2 separate regions of the Homo sapiens genome follow, and region 2 is linked to region 1. The links are contacts of gene promoters, found by promoter capture Hi-C in blood cells and fetal thymus (Javierre and others, 2016). All regions are on one chromosome and are shown on one strand. Each heading gives the region's core, a stretch centred on a gene start or on the middle of the fragment in contact. The rest is flanking DNA. Distances are from core to core; before and after follow the strand shown. Region 1 holds the start of ABCB10 (ATP binding cassette subfamily B member 10). Region 2 overlaps GALNT2 (polypeptide N-acetylgalactosaminyltransferase 2).

Region 1 (5,150 bases), core at 1,009-3,508:
AATGGGATCGTTTTCATTGTGCATCTTGCTACCTCCTCTTTGTGTTTTTTTTGTTTTTATTTTGTTTTGAAAAGATGCAGTCTTGGTGTGTCGCCCAGGCTAGAGTGCATGGAGTGCAGTGACGTGATCTCAGCTCACTGCAACCTCCACCTCCTGGATTCAACCGATTATGCTCCCTCAGCGTCCCAAGTAGCTGAGACTACAGGCATGCACCACCAAGCCCAGCTAATTTTTGTATTTTCAGTAGGGATGGAGTTTCACCATGTTGGCCAGGCTGGTCTCAAACTCCAGACCTGGAGTGATCCGCCCGCCTCGGCCTCCTAGAATGTTGGGATTACAGGTGTGAGCCACCGCCTGGCCGCTACCTCCTCTTTTTTTTTCTTTTCTTTTTTTTTTTTGAGACGGAGTCTTGCTCTGTCTCCCAGGCTGGAGTGCGGTGTGGCACCATCTCAGCTCACTGCAACCTCCGCCTCCCGGGTTCAAGCAATTCTCCTGCCTCAGCCTCCTGCGTAGCTGGGATTACAGGCACGCTCCACCACACCTGGCTAATTTTTGTATTTTTAGTAGGGACGGGGTTTCACCACGTCGGTCAGGCTGGTCTCGAACTCCTGACCTCGTGATTCGCCCGCCTCAGCCTCCCAAAATGTTGGGATTACAGGTGTGAGCCACCGCGCCCGGCCGCTACCTCCTTTTTGAGCCCAACTAAAGAAACATCAAGGATTGATACCCTCCCAGTTGAAGAGAAAGTGACAACTTTAACCCAAATCTCACCTTCCTCTTACTTTCTCTTTCCCATTTTCCAGCTGCCAAACTAAGGGCAGCTGCTGTCAGTTTTTGTAAATAAAGTTTCCAGGGCTGGGATTAGAGCGAGAGAAGAGAGGCAGGATTGTGAAAGGTCAGGAGTGGATACTCAATCAAAATTTTTTATATTTTGTTCATTACGGATTTTTTAAATTAATTTTGATTTTTAAAAATATTGCACTAAAATGTTTATGTTGATTATTGAGGTTTTTTTATTTTGTGAACCCATAAAATTTGCAACTGACAGTACCCTGTCCAGGTCCAGTAAAAATACCTAGGAGTCTACAAAAATCTACCCACGACTCACTGGACCTCAGGTACATATCCCCCCCCGCCCCCATGAAGTCTCCATAAAGTGTCCCAGTGAGTTTTAATGTTCTCTCCTGTCTTTCCATGCACGTGTATTAAGATGCATTGCCTTCTGATTAGTGTTTTCCACTTCGAACAGCGGGAATGCCTCGACCACGCCTGTCTTCAAATTTCTGCTCTAGTTAAGAAACGATCTCAGGCCGGGCACGGTGGCTCACGCCTGCAATCCCAGCACTTTGGGAGGCTGACGCGGGCGGATCACCTGAGGTCAGGAGTTCGAAAAGAGCCTGACCAACATGGTAAAACCCCGTCTCTACTAAAAATACAAAATCAGCCGGGTGTGGTGGCGTATGCCTGTAATCCCAGCTACTTGGGAGGCTGAGAAGGGAGAATCACTTGAACCTGGGAGGCAGAGGTTGCAGTGAGCCGAGATCGTCTCAAGAAAAAAAAAAAAAAGAAAAAAAAGAAACGATCTCTTCCCTTCTCAAAGTTATATACATTTCACTATTCGCCAACCACCTCCTCCACGCCGTCCAGAGCTGAGCTGACACGCAGCGAAGTCCTCTCAGTGGTCCCTCCGCACCTCAGCCCTGTGCTTGGCAGCGAGACGAGTGACAGGGCCGCCCCAGCATGGGTCTCCCGGGCCGCGGACCCGCCCCACGCCGTATCCAGCACGCTGTCCTCCCGCCCCATCTTTGTGCCGGCCATCGTGTGGTCGCGTCTGCGCGCTCCGCCCGGTCTGCCGGCGTGAGAAAGAGCTCGTGTCGTTCCCAAGTTCAGACCAGAGGGGACGGCGAAGCGCGAAAAAGTTCCCTGCGCCCAGTACGCAGGCGCAGCCGTGCTCCTGGGCTTCCCGGGCCTCGTCCCAGCTGGCGCGCCCGGCGCTCCTCCGCCAGCGGGCAGTTGGGGGCGCTGCAGGGAGGGCACCCGAGCGGGTTGGGGGCGCTCGGAAGGGTGGCTTGCAAGGTCCGGGTAGCTGCAGTCCCCGGAGTGGGGCGGAGAGGCGCGGCACCGCGCGGACGAGGATGGGGCGGGGGCGGGCGCAGCCCGAGGGTGCAGGCACGATAAGGCGGGTGACAGCCAGCGGGGAGGGGCGGGCGCCACCGCGTCCACGCCCTTTGCTCGGGGCCGGGCCGGGAGGGTCCTCGGGCTTTGCGCGCGCCTGGCCGGCGGGCTGAGGCGTACGGGTCGCACGCAGCGCCATGCGAGGCCCCCCTGCCTGGCCGCTGCGGCTGCTCGAGCCACCGAGCCCTGCCGAGCCAGGTCGGCTCCTGCCGGTAGCCTGCGTGTGGGCCGCGGCCAGCCGCGTTCCCGGGTCCCTATCGCCGTTCACTGGCCTGAGGCCGGCGCGGCTATGGGGCGCGGGGCCCGCGCTGCTCTGGGGCGTTGGAGCCGCGCGCCGCTGGAGGAGCGGCTGCCGGGGCGGGGGTCCGGGCGCCTCGCGGGGCGTCCTGGGCCTCGCGCGGCTCCTGGGGCTGTGGGCTCGCGGCCCCGGCAGCTGCAGGTGCGGGGCTTTTGCCGGGCCAGGCGCTCCTCGGCTCCCGCGCGCCCGGTTCCCGGGCGGTCCCGCAGCCGCTGCCTGGGCAGGGGACGAGGCCTGGCGGCGCGGGCCGGCGGCGCCTCCCGGGGACAAGGGGCGGCTGCGCCCCGCAGCGGCCGGACTCCCGGAGGCCCGGAAGCTCCTGGGGCTGGCGTACCCTGAGCGCCGGAGGCTGGCAGGTAGGGTCCTCCCCGGCCACTTCCCTCCGCCGGGCCTCTCCTTCTCCACACGCGGGGTCCCGGGGCGCCGAGAGGGACACGGCCGGGCCGCAGAGCGCGTGTCACCGCCGCCTCTCCTGGGCCACTCCTAACCCCGGAGGAGGGAGGGGATCGCTCACCTCAGAGTAGCGTTGTCAAGATTTCGCCTTAGCTGGGGACTCGTTTGCAGATTTTACACTTGTTTTCTTGTTGACACACGTTATATATGTCATTATTGGAATCTTTGGGTCTGTTCCACCACCAACTTAGTGGGAGCATCTGTTTTGGCTTAGGCAGCAAAATGAGCTGGAGGTTTTTCCTTGGAAAAAAAAATTCTAGCCAAAAATATGCCTATTTTGTTATTAGGCGTTTATACTTTTTTTTTTTAACCAAAAACACATTATTTGCTTCAAGCGAGTCTGTCAAGCAGTCACCAATGCTTTCACAGCGGAAAGCAAAACTTTCAGACTTGTCTCTTGTGCAGGAAGTTACAGCACTGTGTTCAACAGGCCACACCAGTGATCTGTTCAGTAATTGAGTAACTTTTTTAAAAGAAGCCAAAATGAATGTTTTTAGAAACAAAATTTAAATAGGACAGTTTTCTATAGCTCCTCATTTTTTAGCCATAATTGGAGGAGTGTTTAGATGCAAGGGCCTTGTAAGATCTAAAATTTTTTCGATTTCTCTAAATCTTCACTCCTTCTATAAACATCTGTTGAGCCCTCATTCTGGACTGGGCCCTGGGTTTACAGTGGCATGCACAAGGAAACATGGTCCTCACTTCTGCTGGGGCTTCTAGGTTAGTGGGGAGAAGCATCTATGAAATATTCGTATGTATAGAGGTAAACCTGCACCTGTGGGCTGTGGAAGGGGGCCTGTGGGGCCTGTGAGGTTGTCAGGTGCAACACCAGAAAAGCATTCTTTGCTGCAAATCCATTGCTTTAGAAAGGACCCTCCTGGGTAGTGATTTGGGATTTAGAGTAGGTTTGCACAGTGGAGGAGAGCAGTTAGGGTGGCGACTTTTCATCTACCAGTTGCTATGAAAGCTTAGGGGGCTGTTGATATCACTCGGGTGTAAAGAGAATTATTTCATTGTTCAGTTGGTTGAGTGTAGATTTTGTTGTAAAATATCTTTTTCTCTTTCCTCTTTTTAAAAACATTGGAGACTAGGAGCTCTCACTGGACTTTGAGCTGCTTGAGACGGGGACTGTGCGATTCATCTTTCTGTCTCTAGTTCTTAGCATGTGCACGGCACAGAGCAGGCGCTCAGAGTGCCTTCAGTGAAGGAATAAATGACCATACCACCAGGCACAGAGTGAGGCCTTTAGAAACCCTGAGCATCATCGGGTGCGCCCACCACTTCTGTATGTGACTCAAAGTAAGTGTAAGGAAATCCAGTTCTGTTTTGTTTCTGAAATACTAGATGTCAGGAAGGGTGTTTAGGTGTCAGGCTTTGGTGGCCTACACGTGCCCAGTCCTCTTATGCCATGACCATTGTTCCTGTGACCCCTCACTCTGTCCCCAGATATCCTGCCATGCTAGTATGTTTTGGTGACAGCCTTAAACAAGACGAGACTGCCTCCTTTTTTCTTTCTTCTTTTGTTTTTCTGGGATAGGGGTCTCACTGTGTTGCTGAGACTTGTGTTGAACTCCTCAGCTCAAGCAGCTCTGCCTCTACCTCCTGAGTAGTTGGGACTACAGGCATGTGCCACCACACCCAGCTCGTACCTTTTTTTTTTTTTTTTGAGATGGAGTTTTGCTCTTGTTGCCCAGGCTGGAGTGCAATGGCGTGATCTCACCTCACCGCAACCTCCGCCTCCCGGGTTCAAGCGATCTTCCTGCCTCAGCCTCCCAAGTAGCTGGGATTACAGGCATGTGCCATCATACCCGGCTAATTTTGTATTTTTGGAGACAGAGTTTCTCCATGTTGGTCAGGGTGGTCTCGAACTCCCGACCTCGGGTGATCTGCCCACCTTGGCCTTCCAAAGGTGCTGGGATTACAGGTGTGAGCCACTGCACCCGGCCTTCTTTTTATTTTAAGAACAGAATATATTTTGTTCCACCACATTGAGAAATTATGAATATATAATTTGAAGAAACAAGCCTAGGGTTGGCACACTATTTTTTTTTTTTTTTTTGCTTTTCAAACAGATAAATACATATTGTATGTTATGAGGATAAGGATATCTGATAAAAAGCCCTTATTTAGATGTATGATTTCCTGAGAAGTTATTATATATTAAAGCCAGTTAGGATTAAGAGGAAGTGGTGGTCATTGTTAATTTGTAATTAAAAAAAAATGT
Region 2 (5,267 bases), core at 1,710-4,209, 630 kb before region 1:
GTGCTCTGAAGAGAACTAAACACTTCAGCTATGGGGTGGGAGCCCAGAGAACACTGGATGTCACGTGACTGCTTCTAGACACTGTATTTCGACTAATAAAGCTTAAGATAACTATTTTTAAACAGCTCCATTACATTTCTGGCTACTGATCTCAGCCCTTGGTCTCCACTTTCTTGCTTGTTGGAACAGGAGAAGGACAATGAAGATTTTTTAATGTTGGCTAGAGTAAGAAAATAGGCCCCCTGTGGAAGATAAAATGGCAACTAATATTAAAAAATGCATGCATTGCCATTGACCCTGCAATTTCACTTTTAGGAATTCATTTCAAGAAAATAATCATGGACTTAAACAAAGATTTACCTCTCAGGATACTGGCTGGAACCCCTCTTTATGTCCCACAACAAAAAATAAGTTCAATGAGCCGATGGCGGTCGAGATGTTGCTGCCATTAAAATGCTATAGGAGATGTTTATGGATGTGAAAAGGAGTTCCCGATATATCGCCCAAGCAGAGATGGTACACCACAGTGCTGTATTTGTAAAAATCTAGCTGTAAGCAGATGGTAGGGAACTGCCCATAGAAAAAGGCCCCGTTTCAGGAGAGAAGAGAGAGGAGGGTGGCCCCCGATCAGGGAGTCAGAGCCCAGAGGGGGCTCTGAAAGAGAGATGGGCGTGTGTGGAGAGACGTCTCAGCAAATCCCCCAAATCTACTGAAATGCTAGTCACCTTGTGGATGACCTGAATTTTCATAGAAATTCACGAAAAGATTGAACTTTGAATGTGGGATAAAACTCAGGACCTGTTGTCAGAGAGGCCAGATGCTTCAGGAGCATTTGGTCCCAGGAGCCAACTCTAAGAAACTGTGCAAGGCCTGAGGCTTCAAGTGCGTGGGTCTTGGCGCATCCCATGCAGAGGAGACCCCTTCGTCTCAGCTATGGGGGCAGCACACCCACCTGGGTATACGCCCAGGGCAAGTATGGAGGAACACGCAGTGGGAGAGGAATGGTGGTTGTTTCTGGATGGTAGAATTATGTATGAATATAATTTTCTTATTTTTGCTTATCTGAATTTCTAAAACGTACAATACACACATTGCTTGCTTTTTAAAAGATGCTTCCCTAAAGACACTGACAGCCACTTATTTTCCTTATGACAACACTGTGCAGATCACTGGCCTCAGGCCTGGCTCATGAAGAACTACGTAGACTTCGCTCCCCACAAGTGTCACACGGTTCCACCTCACACGACATGTATCACAGGGCACATGGTTCACAGAGACACAGGAAGGGAATTCTGACCCACAACATGGGTGAACCTGGAGGAGTTATGCTAAGTGAACAAGCCAGAAATAAAGGACAAGTACTGTAAGGCTGCACTCATATGAGGGACCCAGAGGAACCAAATTCATAGAAACAGGAATACCAGGGCCTGGGAGAGGGAGGAATGGGACATTGGTACTACATGGGTACAGTTTCCATTTTGCAAGATGAAAACAGCTCTAATTGATGGTGGTGATGACTGCACAACACTGTGAATGCGCTTAATGCCACGGACCTGTATGCTTAACAACGCTTAAAATGGCAACTTTAGTGTTACGCATCTTTTACCACAATTAAAAAGATAAATGCACAATGCCAGAACCCATTAAGTCACCTAGAAAAACAAAGGGTCGGGGAACACTCCTCTCTGATGCTGCAGCAATGCTGAACAAATAACACAAGTGGTTTATCTCATCTTTCTTCCGGCAGGTGGGAAGTAGAAAAGCTAAAACGTCTCTGTTAGGATCAGTGGCAATTCACACCCTGGATTTAAGTTCTCTTAACACATTTCATCATTCCCATTTCATTCATCTTTACGTGAACATTAGCAATTTCTGTTCTGAGAAATCCACTGTCTGGGGTAACTGAACCAACAGCACATCGGGGAGGGGTGGCTGTGATGAAGACACAGCCCAGGACCAGGATGGGGAGGGGGCTCAAGGAGAATCCAGACGGCCTTAGGACTCTCCTTTCTGAACTCTCTCCCTACCCTCGTCTCTCCTAAGCCTCAGCCCTTTACACAAGGTTACTAAGGAATACAAGAATGACACTAAGGTCTCATAAAGGCAAAGAGAAAATCTGCTCCAAAAGGCCACGTTGACCAAAGGGTGAGAGATCTCCAACAAGAACCTCATCAACAGCTGTCCTCAGAGGCAGACCTCGGCCTTCTAGCCCCTACAGCTGCCCCTGCTCCTCTTCCGGCCCCACTCCTCTACTGGCCCCTGCTCCTCTTCCGGCCCCCGCTCCTTTGCCAGTCCTTCTGCCAGCTGGCTGGCTGGTCAGATTCAGAGACAATTACAGGGAGAAACTTATTTTTCAATCCAGAAGTTTTTCCACACCAAGGGGAAAAAATGACATTCTTCTCTATCAGATAGATTTCCAAAATACAAAATATTGACTAATATACATACTCTATTTGAAGACAATATTTTAAAAACCAACACTGAAAAAAAAAATTCAGTGGTTCCAAGTAGAAAGCATGATGCTGAAATAGAAGCAAGGGTCACAGAGTTTATGGGCAAAAACTCATCCACAGTAGACCTGAAATGTGGTATGAGGGTGGGGGGAACTACAGAGATATATTTTTACAGCATGTAAAAGAAAATAAAATTGGTGATTCCAATCTGAGAATAGAGATTAAAGGGAAATGGTAAGACACAGTTAACAGAATCAAAGAGTTTTAGAGCAAGAATGTATCTAAATTTTACAGACAAGGAAAACAAAACCCAAATACTCCTTAACTTGTCTAAGGCCACAGGACTGGTGGCACAGCTGAGCCTAGAGCTCCCGGCCATCATCCTTGTTCCGAACCCAGATCCCGTGCTCCCAGGTTATTGTTCTTGCCCCCATTCCATGACTTCCAGCTGGGACTGCCACTTGGGTGGTATACTTTATACAAATTCCAGATTCTTCCCCAAAGTACGATGAACCAAGGCAAGAAATAGAGTTAAAACAATAATCTGGGTTTTTGTGACCACGGCAGCCCCAAGAGTGGTAGTCTCCAAAGTGGGGCCACATAAGACAATCTTCTGGGGCAAAGAAAGAAAATGACAGACATTGTCAAGTATTTTCCTCATCCTTTATAATAGCTTATTTTAAATACACTTTATGATACAAACAGGAGGCAGGGAAATACTGGGTAGGAGAGAGTGGTCCCTAGCAAACGCCACACCCTCAAGCCTGGAACCGTAGGGCCCAAAGTGAGAACATGCATTTCTGTTTTCCTGCCCGAATGTTGCCTTTTCCAAAACCACCCCGGCCCGCCCCACCCTCCATCTTGTACCCATAAAAACCCCAGGCCCTACCAGCAAAGCAATAGAGAAGGAGAGAAGAAACAGCCGGATGTTGGAGAGAATCAGCTTGATTTCAGAGGGACAGCTTGACAGCAGGACTTTGGAGAAGAGTTTGGCTGGGGACAGCAGGACTCCAGGGGAAGACCATCTTCCCACTTAACCCCCTTTCTAGCTTCCCATCCCACTGAGAGCCACTTCCAGTGCTCAATAAAGTCCTCCACATTCACCATCCTTCAATTTGTTTGCACAACTTGATTCTTCCTGGACACCGGACGAGAATTCAGGTACCAAGAGGGTGGATGCAAAAGGCTGTCACACTGACCTTGCACTGAGCTAACACTTAAGTCATCTGTGGACAGCAAATCTAAGAGCACACTGTAACATATGCCCTCTAGGGCTCCAGGGGTCACAGGTAGCCCCACCCAGATGCTGCCGGGGGGCTGCACAGAGTTCTACTCCTGCCGATGCCCAAAAGCACTCACCCCAGCCCCTGCACCCACTCACCTGCATGCTGCTCCTCCCATGAGGGGCTGAGAGCTGTGGGCTGAGTCCTGTGAAGGGGTCAAGGGAACTATCCCATTTCATTTAGAATGTATCAATAAATCTGTACGGCAATATGCATGTAATTCCTAAGTAAGCATTTTAATACATATGTGTGTGGGAGGTGGTCTAAATATACGTCTGTTCATAGAGTGTGCGATCAGAAAATTGGAGACTGTTGGCCTGGAACATCACTGCTCTGCCCTGTTAGATCTGGCTCCTTCATCTGTCAGTGGGTTCTGTGGCCATAAAAGCATCCAGCTTGGTGTCATGTCTTCCCGCCCATCTGTCTACAACTGCTACATGCCCAACACACAGAACACAGGAAGCCACTGAGCTTCCTGAACACACCACTGACACACTGGGAAGTGCCATGGCCAGCGGTTTCTTGCAAACCATAAAACTTTAGCTGTGTTCCTCATGCTTAGGGAAAATGTATTTTTCAATCACAAGAAAATAATTTCTAACAACAAAAAAATTATGTGTATGTTGGTTTAGTAAGAAAAATGGTTTCAACATAAAAAGGAAAGAAAGCCCTTTGGCAAAATAAAAAGACATTGTGCATTTATCAAAAATTACTACTAATAACTCAAAAGAGAGGCAAATCAGTACATTCTGATCTCTTTGAAGATAAGAAAACCAACTGTATGCAATAGTTAAGGATATGAAAGGCAGAGTCAATGTGAGCACTCAAATGATTTTAAGTAAGGTATGACTCTCAATGGTCAAATCCAGCCTATGACCTGAAGATGGCTTTTCCCTCCCTCTCTCTATTTGCCTGAAAACCATCAGAACACTTGTATGTTTTTAATAGAAGATAATCCATAGGAAGTCTCTCATTAATCCACACAACAGAAGTGTGTATCCTAGCTTCCTATTATTATAATAAAGGAATATTAACTATTCTATTCAGATGCTCCCCATTGTGTGGGTAATGTTTACTTTACATATGAAAGAACTGTGGCTCAGGGCTTCATGACTCATCCAGGAGCTGGAAAGATGACAGGGAGGCCGACTTAACACACAAATTGACTGCATGCATGCGTCCAGTCAGAGTTCCTGGAGGAGACAGTGACATACCTGCATCTGGTGTAGGTGGGACAACGCATGGGGAGGGCACAAAGGAGGGGCTTGGACTCCCTGGGGTGACGCTTGTCCAACCACAGTCAAGAACACAACGTGCAAACACTCTCACCAGCAAACACTCTCACCAGCAAACACTCTTGCCAGCAAAGCAAACACTTCATAAACGGACGTCCAGTTCCCAATAGGCATGTAAGGAGCTTGAAAGTCGTTATTCCGTCCTAACAGTAAAAAGCTGAATAAAATGAAAAATCAGCACTTCTTAGAGATCTGCCTTGGATCTGTTGGAGAAATGTCACAAGCCACAGCCCCCC

What was found. Contacts are between HindIII fragments. The CHiCAGO score rates a contact against its expected background, and 5 or more counts as called.
Region 2: a fragment that was not itself captured here is called in contact with the fragment with the promoter of ABCB10 in region 1 in 4 of 17 cell types (neutrophils, megakaryocytes, naive B cells and 1 more); the score reaches 7.0 in neutrophils.

What each region holds. Positions count from the first base shown.
Region 1 is chr1:229,555,815-229,560,964 of GRCh38, reverse strand. ABCB10 (ATP binding cassette subfamily B member 10) reads left to right here and starts at 2,258. Exons shown (of 13, transcript NM_012089.3): 1 at 2,258-2,829. The coding sequence starts at 2,313. RefSeq lists an enhancer at 1,479-1,668 and silencers at 1,839-2,538, 2,599-3,048. The HindIII fragment of the contact is 4,467 bases long and covers 1-3,895 here.
Region 2 is chr1:230,185,987-230,191,253 of GRCh38, reverse strand. All of the region lies in intron 2 of GALNT2 (polypeptide N-acetylgalactosaminyltransferase 2), which reads right to left. Among named protein-coding and RNA genes, the nearest start is that of GALNT2, 120 kb to the right of the region's middle. RefSeq lists enhancers at 4,071-4,809, 4,810-5,267. The HindIII fragment of the contact is 5,711 bases long and covers 104-5,267 here.